Linked DNA regions of Homo sapiens: all the other regions are linked to region 1. Evidence: promoter capture Hi-C in 16 types of primary human blood cells and fetal thymus (Javierre and others, 2016). All regions are on one chromosome and are shown on one strand. Each heading gives the region's core, a stretch centred on a gene start or on the middle of the fragment in contact. The rest is flanking DNA. Distances are from core to core; before and after follow the strand shown. Region 1 holds the start of CDK3 (cyclin dependent kinase 3). Region 2 overlaps FBF1 (Fas binding factor 1). Region 3 overlaps FBF1 (Fas binding factor 1).

Region 1 (3,283 bases), core at 288-2,787:
CCCGAAGGCGCGAGCCAGGCCGAAGTCAGCCAGCTTGATGGCACCCAACTCATTGATGAGCAGGTTCTGGGGCTTCAGGTCTCGGTGGATGACCCGATGTGAGTGGCAGAAACTCACCCCCTGCAGCAGCTGGAAGAGGTAGCTCTGGAGAAACGAGCGCGAGGTGCAGCCAGCTGAGCGGAGGTGCTGCGTGGACAGGGATGGCAGGGATGGGGTGTCACCTCTCCTTCCCTGCCCTTCCTTCCCTACCTTGATGAGGTGCAGGGGGAGCTCTGAGCCTGGGGTGGAGTCCATGTACTTCTTCAGGTCCTGGCTGAGGAACTCAAACACCAGATAGAGCTTCCTCTCGTTGTGCACCACGTCCAGCAGTCTGACAGGGAGATGGCAGTCAGGATGCTACCTTCGCCATCCCAGCTTCCCCACCTCAATCCCCAACTCACCGGACGATGTTGGGGTGCTTCAGTTCCTTGAGCAGCGAGATCTCCCTGATGGCAGTGCTTGGGACCCCCTCCATCTCCCTGCAAGAAACAAGGGCACAGCCGTGGGCAGAGACTTGGGCCAAGAAGGGCACTTCCAGCCAGGGGGATCGGCTTCTCCTTAACCCCACAGAATGACCAGGGCCCCGGCAATGGAGACCTGTGCTCCTTGGCACGTCATCCACCAAACTCCACAGTCAGGGCCCCGGCAAAGGCTGGTCAGAAGGCAGTGAACTGGGGAGAGGACAGGTAAGGGCTGCTGGGCAGCACCCAGAGGAGTTAAACGTGGACTCCAGGAAAGAGGGAACGGATCAGGGAGCGCCCAGGTTGTGATGGCCCAGGGTGGGTAACTCAGGGGCCGTCCCAGCACTCACAAATCCAGTCTGATCTTCTTCAGGGCCACCAGCTGCCCTGTCTCCCTGTTCTTGGCCTTGTACACCACCCCATAGGTGCCCTCTCCGATCTTCTCTACCTTCTGGAACATATCCATGGCCACAGAGCTGCCTGGGAAACAGAAGGCACCGGGCAATTTGCACCCCACGCCCAGCGCTCCCGTTGCTCCTCCAGCTTCCATGTGGCGCCCTGCCCAGCCCAGCCCAGCCCAGACTGCCCAGCTCCCAAGGCCCACGGCCTAGCCACCCCAACCCCAGCTCATCCTGCCTGGGAACCTGGCTGGGGGTCGGAAACCGCCCCTCACCCAGCCCAGCCCGGACCCCAAGGGGGTCAGGGGGCCCCCTTCACCCAGCCCAGTTCAGCCAGGACCCCCAGGCTTCTCGCCCATGCCCGGCCTCGGAGGGCAGGGCCCACACTCTCCCACCCAGCCCCCTGCCCATCCCAGCCAGAACCCCCAGGAAGTCAGAGACCACCCCTCGCCCAGCCCAGCCCAACATGGACCCCCAGGCCTCTCACTTGTGCCGGGCCTTAGAGGGCAAGACCACCCTTTCCCACCTGGGTCACTGCCCAGCCCAGCCAGTCCCAGGCTCTGGGTACACATGGCGGCCAGGAAGGGCTGCCCAGGGGCCAGGGCCACTGGGGGCAGAGGTCAGGGGTCAGGAGGGTCTTAAAGCCACAGTCCTGTCTTAGGCTGCACGGTCAGGGCCCAGGGCCTCAGCCCGGCCCGTGTGACGACGCTCAGCCTCCTCTGAAGGCAGAGCCTGGCCAGGGGCAGACCCCTGCATCCTGGGCCCCCCACCCCAGCCCCTGGGCCCCTGGTGCCCTACCCTGAGGCCCCAGGCCCAGAATTCACCAGAAGCCCTGAGAGGCTGCAGCCCACAGCCTGGGTTGCAGCTCCCCCTCCTGGCCCCCGCCGGCGCTGCACCACGAGCACACTTCAAGAGCACGCCCCCTGGGCCTTTATTCACCAGGACCTTCTGGAACCCTCCATGGCCCCACACCAAGCACGGCCCCGGCGCCCAAGCTCGGCCACCTGCAGTCTCCTGGGGTGGGGCTGTCGGATTTATGGCATGCTTTCTGGGTTCTCATTGCTGAGCCAATCCCAAAGTAGGGGAAGGGGCTGGATTCATCACCCGCCCCTCGGCTTTCGAGCTCCAGACAAGGCCGTCGCTGGGGAGGCGTCTGTGCTCTCCCGGGCTCCTGCAGCTCCAGAGGGTTCGGGCTCTGAAGCAGGTGAGGGTGTTGCTAGGCTGCTGTTTCCTACTGGCTGCCGCCCCGCTCCTGCTTGTACAGTCTCTGCTCCCGGATGGCTTGTTCCAACAAGGGCAGGTTCATCCCCTCCACACAGGTCAGCACGCGCGCCTTCACCACGGAGCCTCTGTCTGCAAGACAAACACCAGGGCACGAACGGCGACTGAGCGGCGTGTCAACAACGTCCTCCAAGGTGCATTCCAGCTGTTCCCTCCACAGCTCAGTCCTGGGTTTTGGCAGCAAGTGATGTGGACAATAACAGCATATGGGGCAAAGGCAACTGAGTATTTGGGCCTAGAACCGTGGGCCTGTCATGCACAGTCGGCCCGTGTCTGGAACTTAGCAGGTGGTCAGAAAACCCCTCTGGACTGAGGGAAAGGCCCCCTTGGCACCTTGGGACACAATGTCATCAGGAACCGGGGAAAAGAGACACCCATATTTTAAAAATCCAAGAGACTGAGCTCCCGGTAAGTTTGGCTTTATAGGAGCAGGTCATCCCACCCTGGACGAGGGGGGCTTCTAGCAGATGCGGTGGTGACCTGATACATAATGGAAAGGTTTGCCACTATTCAGGTGGCACCAAACAGGAAAGACATCTCCGAGAGACTTTTTAAAAATTTTCTTTCTTTTGACAGGTGAACTGGCTCACACCTGTAATCTCAGCACTTTGGGAGGCCAAGGCATGTGGAACACTTGAGGTCAGGAGTTCAAGACCAGCCTGGCCAACATGATGAAACCCCATCTCTACTAAAAATACAAAAATTAGCCGCGTGTAGTGGTGCATGCCTGTAATCCCAGCTACTTGGAAGGCTGAGGCAGGAGAATTGCTTGAACCCAGGAGGTGGAGGTTGCAGTGAGCCAAGATCACGCCACTGCACTCCAGCCTGGGCAACAGAGCAAGACTCCACCTAAAAAAAAAAATTTTTTTTTTGAGACAGGGTGTTGCTCTGTCACTTGGGCTGGAATGCAGTGGCTCAATCATGGCTCAATGTAGCCTCCACCTCCCAGGCTCAGGTGATCATCTCAGCTTCCTGAGGAGCTGGGACTACAGGGACGCACCACCACACCCAGCTAATTTTTGTATTTCTTGTAGAGATGGGGTCTCGCCATGTTGCCCAGGCTGGTTTCAAACTCCTGGGGTCAAGTGATCTGCCCGCCTCGGC
Region 2 (3,122 bases), core at 5-2,504, 72 kb after region 1:
GTGGACCCAAAGCAGAATCCTCTTTCCTGTAGTAAGATGAGTGGAAAGGAGAGCTCCCTGAAACTGCTAGAGTCTTAGATGTTGCTCCTTTCCCCTTATAAACTCCATAGCTGTCCATTGGCATGGGTGGGAAGTAGCAGAATTTCAGTCCTGGATGGAAGAGTTCTCTATGGTTGGAAGGAGTAGGAATGGCAGTGCTCTCTGAGTCTCTAAAACCAGGCAGGTTTGGCTTCAAACAACTGCCAAGCCCAAGCAAGGGGAACAAAGCCACCCTCCTGTGTAAGCTCCATTGGCCAAGCTCTGCTCCTGCCGCGCCGTCTGCCCTAACAGAAGCAAGGGGCCAGGACCCTGAGTTTTATTGGGCCTTGACTAATGTGCCTCCTCATCTGTGTCCTCACCCTCATTGTGGACTTAGGTTTCAGGTATCTCAGAGGCAGACCCACAGGCTCTGCTCCAGGCCATGAAGGTAAGGAAACAGCTTGCACGATTCTTAGAACTGGGGGTGGGTGGGGTGGGGTCATGATATTTTGTACCAAAGCTTCATTCTCCTTCTAATTTCTCCCTTTACAACCTGTGTTTCTGAGCCCTTCCTCGTGCAAGCATGGAACTCGTCTGTGAGCCGTTGGCCTCCTTGCCTTTCTGAGTATCAACCAGTGTTCCTGGTATATAGAGAGTGGAGAGTGCCACAGGCCTCTGGGGAAACGGGGCCAGCTCTACTCGGAGGCCCACCTAGCTGGGTCCCCTCACCTCCACCTAGAAGACAGAGGGGGAGACTCTTTCCTCTAATGCTTGTTCTTAATCTTTCTCCATATTTCTCTCCACATCCCCTGCCAAGCCCCCTTCAATACTGCTGTCTTCTCATCAGATCAAGCCCAGCGCCAATCTTTGCAATGGATTTTTAAGGCACAGATTCTGAATAATTTGTAAGGACATAATCTCTAGCTTGGCCTAAGACACCTTGTTCTCCCTCTCCTTCCAGCCAGCAGCACCTTCCTGTCTGACCCTTGGGGTTTTGTGTCCCTTTTAGTTAACCCATTTTGCCACAGTCCCTAGGACAAAGCCGCGTTTTTGGTTACAGCCCTGTGGGGCTCTTGTTTTTGTTGTGTATTTTTGTTTTTTGGGTTTTTTTTTAGAGACACCATCGCATTCTATCACCCAGGCTGGAGTGCAGTGGTGTGATCTCATTGCAACCTTAAACTCCTGGCCTTAAGCGATTCTCTTACCTTGGCCTCCCAAAATACTGTAATTACAGGCATGAGGCACCACACCCGGTCCAGATTCAGCTTCTTTAATCTCATCTTGAAATCTTTCTCCTCAAAGGCCAGGCACCTGTAATCCCAGAACTTTGGGAGGCCGAGGCAGTAGGCTCGCTTGAGCCTAGGAGTTGGAGGCTGCAATGAGCTATGATCACACCACTGCACTACAGCCTGGGTGGTGACAGAGTGAGACTCTGTCTTCAAAAAAAAAAAAAAAGTCTGGCATGGTGGCTTACTCCTGTAATGCCAGCACTTTGGGAGGCCATGGCAGGTGGATCACTTGAGCTCAGAAGTTGGAGGCTGCAATGAGCTATGATCGCACCACTTCACTCCAGCCTGGGTGACAGAGTGAGACTCTGTCTTTATTTTATTTTATTTTTAATTTATTTTTATTTTTTTGAGACGGAGTCTTGCTCTGTTGCCTAGGCTGGAGTGCAGTGGCATGATCTCGGCTCACTGCAACCTCCACCTCCCAGGTTCAAGCGATTCTCCTACCTCAGCCTCCCAAGTAGCTGGGATTACAGGCGTGCACCACCACACCCAACTAATTTTTGTATTTTTTGTAGAGACAGGGTTTCATCATGTTGGCCAGGATGGTCTCGATTTCTTGACCTGGTGATCCACCTGCCTCGGCCCAAAGTGCTGGGATTCTAGGCATGAGCCACCGCGCCCGGCCAATATCCTGTCTAAAAAAAGAAAAAAAAGAAAGCTTTTTTCCCGAGACCAGCCACCTAGGATCCCTGGGCATAACCCACAAGTCCTCTGACTCAATTTTTGGTGCTGACTTTGAGTCTCTCATCCCAGAACCATGAGCTGGACTCCATTCCACCTCCCCCTGCTTACCTTTAGTTCCATTTTCTTTCTTCACTCACTGTTTTTCTCAACAGTTTTCTCATTTTCCTTTGTTTTCTCACAATTCTACACCTGGGGTGCCAACAGCCCATCTCTCTCAGGTGGAAGTCCTCAGCCCCTTATCAGACATAGTCCTCTGCCCTCCCTCCCTGGTTTTCTAGGACCTGGACGGCATGGATGCTGATATCTTAGGTCTGAAGAAATCTAATTCAGCCCCTAGCAAAAAAGCTGCAAAGGACCCTGGGAAAGGAGAGCTGCCCAACCACCCCAAGCCTGCAGGTGGGTCAGTAGCCAGTGAGAAAGGTGCATGGGAGACGGCTCCTCGCATCTGCTAGGGAGACTTTGAGGACGTGGAAGATGCTAGTAGGAAGCGTTCATGTCCTTGGGTTTTCTCTGCACAGGATGGAGAGGCCAAGGAGCATTTGTGCGTGTGTGTGTTTGAGTGTGTGTGGTGGGGTAAGGGGACAGCTTGAGTTTCCTCCCTTCCTCGAGCTGTTCCAGGCCCTCTGGGTCCAACATGGGCAGCTCCTGGAGAAGCTGTGTGAGTTAAAATGGAGAACTCTATGGCAGCCTGTGCCTCTCCTGAACCCATGTCTCTGGAGTGACTCATGATGAGGAAGCAGAGGTAGCTCCTACCTCGTTTCCCTGCCAGAAGCCCATGGCAGAACTGGAGACTCCTCCCTTGGCTGTGCCCATGGCCATGAGCCCCCAGCTTCCCAGGAAGAAGTGCACCCCATCCCAGGGGCCCCAGTCCATGATATGGGAGGAGGACTTTGGCCAGGAGAGACTCAGGCCCATGACCTTGTCTTCTGCTTCCTGCAGGGGGTGCCATTCCCACCAAGAAGTCACTTCCGTCTCCCAGCAGCTCTGGGCATCAGAACAGGAGGTTTTCCTCTGAAGGTACCATAGGCTCCTGTCATGCCTCTGGGACACTCTGGTTTGGGAGTGGAGCAGCCTAGGCATGCTTGCTGGCCCGAGGCCCAGCTGCTGCCTATGTCACATGGGTGCCACTGG
Region 3 (3,218 bases), core at 138-2,637, 90 kb after region 1:
AGGAGTTTGAGACCAGCCTGGGCAATATGTTGAGACACCGTCTCTACAAAATGAAAAACTAAAAAAAGAGGACCAGGTGCGTGGCTCACACCTGTAATCCCAGCACTTTGGGAGGCTATGGTGGGAGGATTACTTGAGCCCAGGAGTTCGTGGCCAGCTTGGGCAACATAGTGAGACCTCGTCTCCACAAAAAAATAGCTGAGCGTGGTGGCATACACCTGTACTCCCAGCTACTCCGGAGGCTGAGGTAAGAGGATCACTTAAGCCCGGGAGGTCGAGGCTGCAGTGAGCCACAACGGTGCCACTGCACTCCAGGCAACAGAGCGAGACTCTGTCTCAAAAAAATAAATATTAAAAATTTAAAAATTAGCTGGGCATGGTGGGGCATATCTATAGTCCCAGCTACTTGGGAGGCTGAGGTGGGAGGATTGCTTGAGCCCAGCTGGTCGAGGCTACAGGTGTGTTCACACCACTGCACTTCAGCTTGGGTGACAGAGCAAGGCACTTGTCTCAAACTAAACAAAACAAAACTATAATGATAACAGTTGTCATTATGGAGCATTTCCTGTGTGCCAACCTCAATGCCGAAGGCTTTGTTTATATTTTACTTATTTATTTATATTTAGAAATGGGGTCTCACGATGTTGCCTCGGCTGGTCTCAAAGTCCTGGGCTCAAGTGATCCTACCCCCTTGGCCTGCGGATTAGCTAGGATTACAGGCATGAGCCACTGTGCCTGGCCTGCTTTGTGTATTTTTTAAGCTTTTACCCTCACACAGCCCTGCAAGGAAGGGCTACAAGGAATGTTTACAGACAAGGAAACTGAGGCTTAGAGACATGAAGTCATGTGCTCGTAAGTTCCACAGCAAACAAGTAACCTTGCCAGGATTGAGACTGTGGTCTGTCTCACTCCATACCTGGGCTCTTTCATGGCCCCTGCTGACTCCCAGAGCCAGGCAGAGTCAGGGACGATGTGGGGAGGGGCCTCAGTGACGGCTGGCTCAGCTAGCATCCAGGGCTCCACCTCCCTCTCAGCTCAGGGAAGGTGACCGCCCATCCAAACCTGCCTTGCAGGACCGTGACTTCTTGGAGAATGAACAGTTCTTCCTGGAGACCCTGAAGAAAGGGTCCTACAATTTGACATCTCATTCAGCCTGAGTGGGACCCCAGCCGATTCCCCAACAGAGGGTTCGGACCCCAGAACTGTCCTGTTCCTCCGGCTGCCTCCATGGAGGCAGTGCCTGGGGAGGATTCTGAGATGCTTGAGGCCTGATGACAGCTCTTCCGTGGACAGGGTGCAAGTGCATCCTTTCCAAATGTGCCAGCCCGGGGCAGCCCCTGCCTCTGGGGCTCTGTGGTGTAGGCTATCTTACCATGGCTTTGGCTGCCCTGCCCCAAAGCCATTGGCTTGGATCTGAGGGTCTGAGTTGGCAGCAAGGACCCCCAGCTCTCACTGGGCTCTGTGGGCTCCCCCTGGGCTCTGTGGGCTCCCCCTGCTCCACAGGTAGACTGTTGTGGGCTCTTTTTGCCTGGGCCTCTTCTGAGGCAGGAGCTTTCTTGAGGGATGCCACAAACAGCCTTCCCTACTCCCTGCCAGAGCAGTTCCCTCCCTGATGAGCTGGAGAAGGGCCCTCTGGCCTCCTGACAGTACAGGGAGGGCACCAGCTAGATCCTCCCTTGTGGTGTGAGATGTTCCTGGAACTCAGCCAGGCCCTCCTCCTCCTGGGCTTGCCCAGAGCCCCCACCCTATTCCCAGCATTGCCCGAAGGACCAACCAGTTTGGGTGAACAGTGGCCTCCTCAGCTTCCTCCCCATCTGGGTGCCCCACCGGCGGCGGAGGGAGCTGTGGCGATGGTGGGGTGTGGGGAGGGACGAGGAGGGAAGCCTCTGTGCTGCTCACCTGCCCAAAGCCCAGCTCAGCGGGTACGCAGTGGAGGCGACAAGGAACCAATCACAACTACAGAGGTTTCTCTGATCCTCCTCCACTCCCGCTGCTTCAACTTGACTAAGCTTAAAAAAACTGCTTTTGCCATGGCTCATCGGAGTTTATACTTATTTCTTAGAAAATGTTTCCTGTTATTTGCTGGACAAGTCCCAAAGAACAGGCAGATGTTCTTATTAAAAGATCAGCCTATAAGATTGGTCAGGACCAGGCGCCTCTGGCCACGTGCCTCTCCCCTCCAGCACCTGCGGTCTGCGGTGGCACCTGGCAGCTGGACCACAGCCAGGAGAAGGGTACTATTAGCCCTGCTTCAAACATGCAGAAACTGAGGCCCGGGGAGATTAAATAACCTGCCTGAAATGACAGTGAGTAGCTGCGCCTGGATTTGAGTTCTGCTCTGGCCAATCCCCAAGCTCCACGCTGTCAGCCACCCCGCTCTCCTACCTCCCAGAGGAGCAGGCTACACTCCTGGTAGGTGCTGGTGTGGGAGGAAGATCTTTTCAGGCGCTTCTGGGGCTGGTACCAACACTGAGGAGGGAAGTATCACATGCCCCATTGGAAGCCTTGGTTAAGTCTCAAATTTGATTCTCCACAAAAGAGACTCAACCAGTCCTGAGGCAGACCTGTGCAAAGAGCTGGGGGGGTCTAAGGATGGGCACGTCGGCCCAGGGGCAGCTGGTATCTAGGCAGCCACCTGCAGGACCTGCAGGTGATCAAGCACATACATCGGGGAGGGCGGTGCTGGGAGACCCACAGGGGGAGAGCATGGCCTTCAAGACAGAGTAGGGAGAAGAGGTTAGAATGAGAGGGCTTTGCATATCTTGTTAAAGACGTGCAACTTTTCAGGGCAAATTTGTCTGAGGGCAAATTTTCAGGTCTTCACTAGAAGATTTTAAACAAGGTTGAACCATATTTGTATTTTAGAAAACCCATTGGCCAGGCACGGTGGTTCACGCCTGTAGTCCTAACACTTTGGGAGGCCAAGGTGGGTGGATCACTTGAAATCAGGAGTTCAAAACCAGCCTGGCCAACATGGTGAAACTCTGTTTCTACTAAAAATACAAAAAAACTAGCTGGGCATGGTGGTGTGTGCCTGTAATCCCAGCTACTTAGGAGGCTGAGGCAGGAGGATCGCTTGAACCCGGGAGGCACAGGTTGCAGAGAGCCGAGATTGCACCACTGCACTCCAGCCTAGGCGAGAGAGCAAGACTCCGTCTCAAAAAAAAAACAACAACAAAAGAAAACCCATTGTGTCTGCAGGGTGGGGACCGGACCAG

The links. Contacts are between HindIII fragments. The CHiCAGO score rates a contact against its expected background, and 5 or more counts as called.
Region 2: a fragment that was not itself captured here is called in contact with the fragment with the promoter of CDK3 in region 1 in 2 of 17 cell types (erythroblasts and endothelial precursors); the score reaches 8.6 in erythroblasts.
Region 3: a contact is called between a fragment that was not itself captured here and the fragment with the promoter of CDK3 in region 1, in 6 of 17 cell types (endothelial precursors, erythroblasts, neutrophils and 3 more). The highest score is 12.8, in endothelial precursors.

Annotation. Positions count from the first base shown.
Region 1 is chr17:75,999,109-76,002,391 of GRCh38, reverse strand. CDK3 (cyclin dependent kinase 3) reads right to left here and starts at 1,537. Exons shown (of 8, transcript NM_001258.4): 1 at 1,425-1,537; 2 at 851-980; 3 at 441-518; 4 at 250-370; 5 at 1-144. The coding sequence starts at 966. TEN1 (TEN1 subunit of CST complex) reads right to left here. Exons shown (of 4, transcript NM_001113324.3): 4 at 1,806-2,251. The coding sequence ends at 2,130. TEN1-CDK3 (TEN1-CDK3 readthrough (NMD candidate)) reads right to left here. Exons shown (of 10, transcript NR_037709.1): 4 at 851-2,251; 5 at 441-518; 6 at 250-370; 7 at 1-144. LOC124904061 (a long non-coding RNA gene) reads left to right here and starts at 1,832. Exons shown (of 2, transcript XR_007065911.1): 1 at 1,832-2,587; 2 at 2,756-3,283. RefSeq lists a silencer at 1,651-1,730 and an enhancer at 1,861-1,910. The HindIII fragment of the contact is 39,600 bases long and covers 1-3,283 here.
Region 2 is chr17:75,927,341-75,930,462 of GRCh38, reverse strand. FBF1 (Fas binding factor 1) reads left to right here. Exons shown (of 30, transcript NM_001319193.2): 7 at 416-466; 8 at 2,270-2,387; 9 at 2,931-3,008. Among named protein-coding and RNA genes, the nearest start is that of FBF1, 12 kb to the left of the region's middle. The HindIII fragment of the contact is 1,427 bases long and covers 541-1,967 here.
Region 3 is chr17:75,908,662-75,911,879 of GRCh38, reverse strand. FBF1 (Fas binding factor 1) reads left to right here. Exons shown (of 30, transcript NM_001319193.2): 30 at 1,074-2,306. The coding sequence ends at 1,157. Among named protein-coding and RNA genes, the nearest start is that of MRPL38, 5.4 kb to the right of the region's middle. RefSeq lists a silencer at 857-1,017. The HindIII fragment of the contact is 1,248 bases long and covers 764-2,011 here.